Regions from separate parts of the Homo sapiens genome. Here region 2 is linked to region 1. The links are contacts of gene promoters, found by promoter capture Hi-C in human tissues and cell types (Jung and others, 2019). All regions are on one chromosome and are shown on one strand. Each heading gives the region's core, a stretch centred on a gene start or on the middle of the fragment in contact. The rest is flanking DNA. Distances are from core to core; before and after follow the strand shown. Region 1 holds the start of KCNQ5 (potassium voltage-gated channel subfamily Q member 5). Region 2 overlaps LOC122539213 (KHDC1-KHDC1L).

Region 1 (5,119 bases), core at 1,478-3,977:
ATTCCCTCTTTGTGCTAATGTGGATATAGCACCCCTATCTAATTGCTGAGGCATTGCAGTTTCAGACTCTAAAATGTATAATCAAAACTTCACATTTGCTACATCTATTAAGTACACAATTTATTTCCTGTCTACTACTAAAGATACTGCTAGACTGATAAAGCCTGGTAGACAGAGAAGTATCCAACCTTGAACCTTTGGAAAAATCATTTATTAATGTTTTAAAATTCTGTAAGCCCATACAAACCTGTTAACACCAACACATGGAAAAGAAAATGTTGTGTTGCAAGTTCTCATTCATGTTCAAGAACAAGTTAGGAGATGCAAAGTATGTGCACCAACCAAGGCTTTCTTTAACTCTCTCTGAATATACAATGCATAATATAAAAAAAAGAAAGGCTAGAAATGTTTTGAGCATACTGTTGTAAAGAAAAAATCATAACCTATACAGTATATATATTTGCTACCAAATTGAGCATTATAATTGCTAAATTATTTTAGTATATTCTGACAGGTCAAAATAATTTACCAGGCTTATTAAGTAATATGTTTAATTACATATCAGGTCAGAGGAGATTAACGAGAAAAGTGTCAGTTGCATTTCTCTATCATTATCCTAACCACATTTAAATAAATGTGAATTTTACATAAAAGTTATACTTTTTGATGTAATGATGATGCAACACAACCGTTCTCCTTGTGTGCATTGTAAAACGGAAAGTTGGCTGGAATATTCTGCCTAATGCTACATGTTCACGTCAATCTGGGACTGTAAAATTTTCCAGACACCAGAGCCCCACAGATTGTAGACTCCACCAATTTCCTGACTCCTATGTGGTTGAATTCCAGGTTCACCTAGTTACAAAACCAGCCCTTCTTCCATGTTATTTCAAAACACGTTTCTGGTGTTGATGCTAATTCTGCATCCCAGGAGAGAGCTATGTATGGATGACATAACTTATTTCTAAAAGAAACCTAGTCCGTGTGCTCAAAACTTATTTTACTAGGAAACAAGGAATGTATCAGCGAGTATCTGCAACTTTCTCTACTGGTCTTCTAAGGTTGATGTCTTTATATTTCATCTTAACAAAAAAGAAGCAGAAATAATAATACTAAAAAAAGAGGAAGCAAAAGGAGAAGAGGAAGAAAAAAAGAATTAGACACGAGGTAACATTATAAAAACAACCTTAAAATGCCCAGATAAACGTAACTCTAATAGGAGACTGAATGAATGGACTTTGTGGGAAAAACAGTAGTAAACTTTAAAGCCACTGAAAGGTTTTAAATGCCTAAGGGAAAAATAAACATTTGCTTCCAATCATTTTCTCATTAAGCATTCTCTGCTAGATGGAGAAGGCTTACTACACACACACACACACACACACACACACACACACACTCTTTGACTCCGCGCCACAAACGGGGACTTAACCCACTGCCCGATCTCTGTCAGAGGCGACCCATTTGCGCTTCTGCTATCGCACCTCCGCCCGCGTTCCTGCGCCCCAGGTTCCCCGCTGCCTCCCCGCCCCCTGCAGCGCGGGAGCGTTGCTTCGCCTGGCCTGCTGGCCTCCTCTAGACCTTGGCCACCTTCTCCGTGGCAGGAAGGGCTACATGCACTGACAGATTTTCCGTTGGTGGTGGCTGGGTGGTGGCGAGGCGTGTTTCCGGGCGCGCTTAAAACCTAGCAGCTCTCTCCAAGTAGCAGCTTCCCCTACTCCGCCCCTAGGACTGAGGACCTAGCCCTCGATGCCCCCTCACTTCTCCCCGTCCTACCCCGCCATCACCTCCTAACCTCTCCAGTATACTCTCAAGCCTCACACGGGCGCCTGTCCTCCCTTTGCATTCCCTAGCTCCCGGGCGCCCCGTTCGGTTGAAGTTTACGTATCTTGGGACCTAATTGCTCCCAATTATCCGCGCAGCCTAAGTCCCGCGTCTGCCTGGCTCTCGCCCCGGGAGCCTGAAGCTACCGGGCAGTTCATTGGGTGTCCTCGGGGAAAAGGTTCAAGCTGTAGAGATGAGAGAAGTGGGGCTGGGGGAGGGGAGAGGCTCCAGAAGGAAGACCACGAACACGTGCGAAGAAATAAAAGCCACCACGTGTGCACGCGCGCGGGGGCCCAAGGGCGCGAGCGCGGAGCACGCCCCAGGGGGCCAGGGACAGTGGTCCCCTGCAGCGGGCATAGCAGGGGGCGCGGGTACTCACACGAAAGCGTGGTAGATGAACGCCCAGCCGCGGGGTCTCTCCAGCACGTTGTACAGGTAGTTCTGCACCCGCCGGTACTTGACGTTGCGCCGGCAGCTCTGGCTACTCGTGTAAGAGAGCGGCTTCCCCAGCAGGCTCATCCGGGCCCCCTGCTTGCCCCGGCGGCTCTCCCTCAGGCCACCGCCGCCGCCACCGAGCGTGGCCGCGCGGGTGCCCAGCAGTAGCAGGCCGTCGCCCCTGGCGGCTGCCGAGTTCAGCAGCACCCTGCCCCGGCCGGACTCCACATCCTTCATGCCGCTGCCCAAGCGCCCCCCGCCCGCCGCCGCCGCCGCTGCGCCGCTCTTCACCCAGAGCCCGGCGGCGCCGCCCTCCTCTCCTCCCGCGTGGTGGCGGGGCATGGCATCACCACGGGCACCGCGAGGGGGCCGCCAGCGCCTGCGGCGGGGGCAGCGGCCTCATGTGCGCCGGCGGGTTTCAAGGAGGAAGCCGGCGGCCGACGGGGCGCCCGCCAGCCAGAGACCTCTGAGCCGGGGGCGGGGAAGCAGGCAGCCAGCAAACCGCCCGGGCTTCGGGGCGGGAAAGGAGGGGCTGCAGAGGAGGCCGAGGAGTCCCAATTTCTAACAGCCTTTAGCTTCGAATTCTAAATCCGGACCTGTTTGGGGCGTCACTTTGAGAGGGTTTCTCTTGCTCCCTCATTCCCGCGACTACCACTCCCTCCTTCCCAAACTGCCCCCGGGGATAGAGTGGGGGAGTGCGGGGCGCTCCGAGGCGCGCTCCCACGCGCGCACACCCAGCCCCAGGCTTCCCCTTCCCTCTCTCCACTCCCCACGCCCTGCAGCGAAACGGCCCCAGAAGCCCCTCTCCGAGGCGCGAGTTCGGTTTGGTTCTGGCAGGGGCTTTGCAGCTGTCCGGAAGGTGAAGTCAGCCTTGTGTCCTGAGGAGAAACTGGAGATGCAGGTCGCTGTGCCCTCCCGCTGCTACGTCGCTGCGCCGGATCCTGCCATCCTTCCGCAAGGGGTGAGAGCGGGAACAGCCCTGCCCTGCCTTCCAGGTATTATCTAGCCTGGAGGCTGGAGCGCAAGGTAACGCTCCGGGAAGTGGCACTCGGGTCCCCGCACACGGGCGAGTCCTCAGCAGTTCAGTGGACAGACCCGCAGGACGCGGCTGCCAAGTCCGCGAGGCAAGGACCAGGCATCTTCCCGCGCCTCACTCCAGCCTGCGGACTGTGACTTTCCATCCCAGTATCAGACAAGCTCGCGAGTAACTGAACATCCTTTCCAGTCCATGGGTGGGGTGTGGAAAGGGCGTAAAACTCCAAAGTGGCTCCTCCGCGGTGAGCGAGCTGCCCCGGGGCTCTGCCTGACTGCAGCGCGAAGCCTGGGAGAACAAACCCAGTTCCCTCCGTCAAGAAATTTCCATTTAAGTCCGAGAAAGTCATATGATTGAGAAGTTCAGCAGCGGCGGCGAGGACCCAGTGTCTGGGAAAGAACACCTGGAGGATGGGGTGTCCAGGACGCCGGCTTTTCGGGGTTCCGACCCCACCCACCTTATGTTGTAACATACAAGCTTAGAGACCTGTTGCAAGGAACAACTGACTGGGTCTTCCACCACCCCTGGCACCCGGGTGGCCCAAAGCCTATGCGCCCTTGGCGGAGAGAGAGGCCACGGTGCCACTGGCCGCAGCCTCTGGCCTTCAGAAACAGTGTATTACAAAGAAAAGGCAGTTTAAATCTCACATTCAGCATAGGGAAAACTGAAGGGTGCCAGGCTCGGGGACTTCTTCCAACAGAGTGGCTCTTCCCCAAATATGAAAGAAAATCATCAAATTAAATTGAAGGCAAAACTAAGCTTCCACCACAAAGACATAGCAGATAGTTGCAAGGTGGATTCCTTCGGGCCTTTTCCTTTCCTAAGGCTAAAACAATGCTAAGACAAAAGTCTTCTTGCAGCTGTCTCCGCCCCTCCGAGATAAATACTTTCCCAATTCTCCCCCACCCTGTACACACACCCACGCCCGCGGCAGCTGATTTCTGTCTTCTGCAATAGCTCGATTTAAATGCTTTGCTTTTACTCTTTATTATCACTATTATTTGTGTGAAGCCCTCTCGCCTGCTCCTGGTCACCAGCAGGAGCCTGCTTCCCTCCCTCCTTCCCCCCAAGCCTCTGGGCAGCAGAAGCTAGCTGGGAGCTCTGTGCAGCTGGCGGCGACGCCATGTGACTGTGAGCCGAGCACCATCACCCAGAGTCACTCTCTAGCTTTCCCCTAATACACTTCACACCCACGCACTGTGGAGGTGCGAGAGAGGTTGCTCCGTGCGGTGCTATTCGAGGCAGATGCAGAGAGCGCCCTGGAGTAAGCTCTCCAATCCTAGAGCTGCGCGGGACCCTGACTGAAGGCGGAGGGGGCGGGAGGGGGTGCTGTTGCTATATTTAGACTCCCTATGGAGTTTCTGTGCAGGGACTTTCAGGGTGAAAGATCTAGAGACTTAAAATGACTCGTGTGCCCGCTTTAAACGTCAAAATCTTGGCCTTTCTGCAAGCAGTAAAATGAAAACCACTTCCTCTTAACTTAGCTGTTTTCCTTGTTGCAGACTGCTACTTTCGCTGGGTAGGTAAAGTCACTTCCATCTCTCTGGCGCGGCTGGGCCCCGCGTGCAGGCAAGAAGTCTCAGGAAGGCAGGACACAGGGACACGTTTCCCTGGAAGACAGCCAGCTGTTTAATTTCTAAGTGATGCTTTTCTGGGGATGCAGCATTAGTTCTAGTGAAACTGTATTATTGATTAAGCAAATGCCATTTAAGCTTAATTAAAAAATAAAAAAGACCCGGTTACTGGTAGCCGTTTTGAGCTGCTGAGAAGGACCTTTCACTTATGTCTTCTAGAGTAACCGCCATTTGGATACACAGCCCAGAAAAA
Region 2 (5,262 bases), core at 2,583-5,082, 620 kb before region 1:
GGGGTGGTTTTCAGGGAGCAATGGATTCTGAAGTCCCTCATGCCATGAATTAAATCAAATACGAAGGCTTCCTGAATCTCCATTGAAGAACGTTCTCCGATTGCCAAGTCTATATTTGGATCTGTCTAGGCAAGATTATGGCAAGCTAAACCTGTCCTCAGCTGAACTCTTCCTCTTCAAATTTGCCCCTTCTCCAGCAGCCTGCATCTTATATTGAGGCAATTGCAGTACTCTAGGAGAGTGACGATGGTGACTTGGACCAGAGTGGAGTGGTTGAAGTGTTAGGAAATGGTTGAATTTGGAAAATAATTTGAAGCCAGCAAGATTTGCTAATTACATGGTTTTCAGAAGGCCAATTACCAAATAAAGGTTAAAAGATCATATTCACAGTAGAAAAACACTTAGAGAAAATGTCGAAAGAATTCAGGTTATAGTAGTCAAATGCTGTGGCTCATGCCTGTAATCCTAGCACTTTGGGAGGCTGAGAAGGGCTCAGGTGTTGGAGACCATGGTAACATGGTGAAACCCTGTCTCATCCAAGAATACAAAAATTAGCCTGGTGTGGTGGCACATACCTGTCATCCCAGCTGCTTAAGGTGGTCACTGGGGTTGCAGCATTGCTTGAGCCCAGGAGGCGGAGGTTGCGGTAAGCCAAGATCATACCGCCACACTCCAGCATAGGTGACAGAGTGAGACTCTGTCTCAAAAAAAACAAAACAAAACAAAAACAAAACAAAAAAAACTCAGGTTGTTTACAGACTGTCACACAGACTGCCAAAATAAATTGTCTACACAAAATGGCCACTTTTTTCTTTCTAGAATTGAATTGTTCAGTTAGTCCTGAGGCCTAGCCCAGTGCCTTAATAATTATTTGTTGAAAAGTGAATGAACATCTTTTTATTTTATTTTATTTTATTTTATTTTATTTTTGAGATGGAGTCTCGCTCTGTCACCCAGGCTGGAGTGCAGTGGCGTGATCTCGGTTCACTGCAAGCTCTGTCTCCCAGGTTCACGCCATTCTCCTGCCTCAGCCTCCTGAGTAGCTGGGACTACAGGTGCCTGCCACCACGCCCAGCTAATTTTTTGTATTTTTAGTAGATACGGGGCTTCACCGTGTTAGCCAGGATGGTCTCGATCTCCTGACCTCATGATCCACCTGCCTCAGCCTCCCAAAGTGCTGGGATTACAGGCGTAAGCCACCGCACCCAGCCATGAAATTCTTTTTAATGGCTAGGAATGTATTCTAATATTGAAATAAAAATAACCTGTAAAGAAGTGAAGCACATTCTAGTTTGCTAGGCATACAAAGATAAATGTATATCCCTGACCTTTGGACAATAATCAACATTGCTTTTACTAAAAATTTCCTAGGGAAAAAGTCTCATGATTGTCAAAGGTACCATAGTATTTCTAACTCCAATCAAACTTCTGGCAAAGGTCTGTGTATACCTTAGTACAGTTTAAGGAGTCTGAGTTGTCATTTTCTTTCGTCTTTCTTTTCTCTTCTTTTTTTGAGATGGAATCTTGGTCTGTCACCCAGGCTAGAGTGCAGTGGCGTGATCTCGGCTCACTGCAACCCCTGTCTCCCAGGTTCAAGCGAGTCTGGTGCATCAGTCTCCCTGGGATTATAGGAATGCCACCACGCCTGGCTAATTTATTGTAGTTTTAGTAGAGATGGGGTTTTGCCATGTTGGCCAGGCTGGTCTCGAGCTATTGGCCTCAAGTGATCCACCTGCTTCAACCTCCCAAAGTGCTGGGATTACAGACGTAAGCCACTGCGCCCGGCTGAGCTGTCATTTTCTAATGAGCTGTAAGCAATGATCCCACTGAAGGATCCCTGTCTGAAGTATTTTCATGGGGAAGCTGGAAAAAAAAAAAGAGAAAACAACAGGGTAGGTGCGATGGCTCAAACATGTAATCCTAGCACTTTGGGAGGCGAGGCAGGCAGATCACTTGAGGTCAGGAGTTCAAGACCACCCTGGCCAACATGGTAAAACCCTGTCTCTATGAAAAATACAAAAATTAGCTGGGTGTGGTGGCGTATGCCTGTAATCTTAGCTATTTAGGAGGCTGAGGCATGAGAAACAGTTGAACCTGGGAAGCAGAGGTTGCAGTGAGCCAAGATCATGCTACTGCACTTCAGCCTGGGCGATACAGTGAGACTCCATCTCAAAAACAAACAAAACAAAGCAAAAAAACACCAAAAAACCAAGAATGATGCTAAATGGATTTGTGTGTGTGTGTGTTTTGCTACCATATTTCCTGTTCAATAGGGTCAATATTTATTTTCCCATAGAGAATGTCCTCTGAAGCCTTAAGATATGTTCTGTATGTGGAACTACTCTTTATTGTACTGAACCAATAATTGAATATCAGCTATGTCATTTTCATTTAAACGTAAAATTTTGTTTTTTGAATAGATAATTTCTTTATTGGGTTCAAAATTCAAAAAATGCTTTTAGTGAAAAAGATACCCTCCAAGTCCTGTCCTTCAGCTATACAGTATCATTTCTTGTAGGAAATCTGTTTCTAATTCCTTGTATACCCTTGGTTCTCAGATAAATACGCATATACAATGTCTTCTTTTTTATATTCAGATTGCATCATACAATATACTCTTTAGCACCTTGCCTTTTTAAAAACTTAACAATAGGTCTGGCAGAGGGTTGCATTTTAGAGCAGAAACACTTTCTCATAATTTCTTATAGCTATATAGTGTTCCATTGTATGGATATAGCATTCAACCCATTCCATATTGATGGACTTTTAGGTTATTTCCAACCTTATGTTGTAACAAACAATACTGCAGTACTGCAATGTGTATATGTCATTTTGCACATGTGTGAATATATTTGTGGGATAAATTGCTAAAAGTGCATTAATGGATATAGCCAAGTTTCCTTCCTAATTGTTGACAGTTTATACTTCTACCACATGTGTATGAGTATCTATTTCCTTACACTCTCACCAATAATGAGTATCAAATATTTTTAATTTTTGTCAGTCTTATTGATAGATGAAAAATGGTTTCCTAGTGCTGCTTTAATTTGCGTTTATCTTATTACAAGTGGCACTGAATATCTTCTTATTGGATTCCCATATGTGTTTTCCAATGCCTTTTCATTCATATGTATACACAATTTATATTGCACTTTCTGTGACCTGTCTATTTAGGCTGTTGTCCATTAGGTTGTTATTGATTTGTAGTACCTCTTGATATATTATAAATATTAGTGTGTTGTTTGTAAAATAAGCCACAAATACTTCTTTCCAGTGTGTCCTTTGTTTTTTACATTGTTTGGGTGGTATTTGCTATGTAGATATTTTTAATGTCTATGAGGTGAATTCATGAATCTTTTTATGTTTATTGCCTCTGGATTTTGTTTAGTTCTTAGGAATGCCCTCCTCATCCCATGACTATAAAATATTTGGTAGTGGTTTCCTCTGGCATGGTTTGGGTTTTCTTTTTTACATTTAAATAATATTATTTAAATGTATTCCTGAGATGTGATTTGATTTAGGTTGTTAGGTATGGGTCAAATGGGTTTTTATTATTTTTATTATGTATATATTTTAATGTAATTTAATTTTTTTTTTTGGAGACAGAACCTCTGTCACCCAGGCTGGAGTGCAGTGGTATGATCATAGCTCACAGCAGCCTCAAACTCTTGGGCTGCAGTTATCCTCCCACCTCAGCCTCCTGAGTAGTTGGGATTACAGTTGCACACCACCATGCGTATAATTTTTATAATTTTTTTAGACAAGGGGTTTCACCATGTTGGCCAGGCTGGTCTTAAACTCCTGAGCTCAAGTGATCTGTCCCCCTTGGCCTCCCAAAGTGCTGGGATTACATGTGTGAACCACTGTGCCTGGCCTGCAGTGATATTTCTGTCAAACCTGAGAAATACACTGGGGAGAAATCCAATACATATAATAAAATAAAAAATTATGATCAAGGACACTAGACTTAATGTTGAATCAGAGAACCTATAGTAGAGAAAAATACTATAGGTAATATATAAGGCCAATCATTGGCCCACTAGATGGAAAACTTTTATAGCTAGCCCATGTGAAGTTTCAGTCCTGTCTTAATTTATTAAGTATCACTGAATGTACACTGGAAAATATAAACGTATCAATCAGAAATGTTTTAATGTCTTTTCATTCTATTTTGGACGTGAGGAAATCACTTTTTAGTGAGTTGCAACTATACTAAAGTCATAGATTCAGCTATTTTGCACTGAAGGAAGTACACAGTTCTATGACAAAAAAAATTTAAATTAAATTGTATCCGCTGGGCAAGGTGGCTCACACCTGTAATCCTAGGACTTTGGGAGGCCAAGGCAGATTGATCACCTGAGGTCAGGAGTTTGAGACAAGCCTGGCCAACATGGTGAAACCTTGTCTGTACTAAAAATACAAAAATTTGCTGGGCGTGGTGTAATCCCAGCTACTCGAGAGGCTGAGGCAGGAGAATTGCTTGATCCCAGGAGGTGGAGGTGGAGGTTGCAGTGAGCTGACATTGCGCCATTGCACTCCAGCCTGGGCAACAGAGCAAAATTCTTTCTCAAAAAAAAAAAAAAAAAAGAAAAAAAATTGTATCCTTAAGTGATGATTTTGTTGGAAATTTTTTTTATAGATATCATAGTGTATTCAAAGTAAATTAGCTCTTCCTGGTGATTCAGAGCAACAGTCAGGCAAGCTTTTTCTATAAAGTGCCAGATAGTAAATATTTTACGTTCTGTGTCATGCAGTCTCTGTCGAAACTACTCACTCAATGATTACAGTGCAAAATTAGTCAGAGGGAATACATAACTGAATGGTACTGCACTGTCCCAATATAACTTTATTTATAAACACAAAATGAATTGTACATAATTTTATGTGTAAGAAAAAATAATTTGTTTTTTGATTTTTTAGAGCCATGTAAAAATGATTCCTGGCTGGGCGCAGTAGCTCACACCTGTAATCCCAGCACTGTGGGAGGCCGAGGTGGTTTGATCACCTGAGGTGAGGAGTTTGAGACCAGCCTGGCCAACACGGTGAAACCTCGTTTCTACTAAAAATACAAAAATTAGCTGGGTGTGGTGGTGTACGTCTGTAATCCCAGCTACTCGGGAGGCTGAGGTAAGAGAATTGCTTGAACCCGGGAGGCAGAGGTTGTAGTGAGCTGAGATCGCGCCAGTGTACTCCAGCCTGGACAACAAGTGTGACAGTCCATCTCAAAAAAAAAAAAAAAAAAAATTTCTAAACCACAACCTA

Evidence for each region. The method cuts DNA at HindIII sites, captures the fragments that hold promoters and counts their contacts. A contact is called where the count stands out against the background at its distance.
Region 2: a contact is called between a fragment that was not itself captured here and the fragment with the promoter of KCNQ5 in region 1, in 1 of the 25 tissues and cell types used here (mesenchymal stem cells).

The regions. Positions count from the first base shown.
Region 1 is chr6:72,619,672-72,624,790 of GRCh38, reverse strand. KCNQ5 (potassium voltage-gated channel subfamily Q member 5) reads right to left here and starts at 2,727. Exons shown (of 14, transcript NM_019842.4): 1 at 2,204-2,727. The coding sequence starts at 2,601. It overlaps KCNQ5-DT (KCNQ5 divergent transcript), which reads left to right and starts at 2,112. Exons shown (of 3, transcript NR_186827.1): 1 at 2,112-2,259. RefSeq lists silencers at 1,393-1,442, 2,473-2,732 and enhancers at 1,091-2,042, 4,153-4,342. The HindIII fragment of the contact is 7,455 bases long and covers 1-4,528 here.
Region 2 is chr6:73,235,808-73,241,069 of GRCh38, reverse strand. The region is part of intron 4 of LOC122539213 (KHDC1-KHDC1L); the gene reads left to right. Among named protein-coding and RNA genes, the nearest start is that of KHDC1L, 13 kb to the right of the region's middle. The HindIII fragment of the contact is 7,944 bases long and covers 1-5,262 here.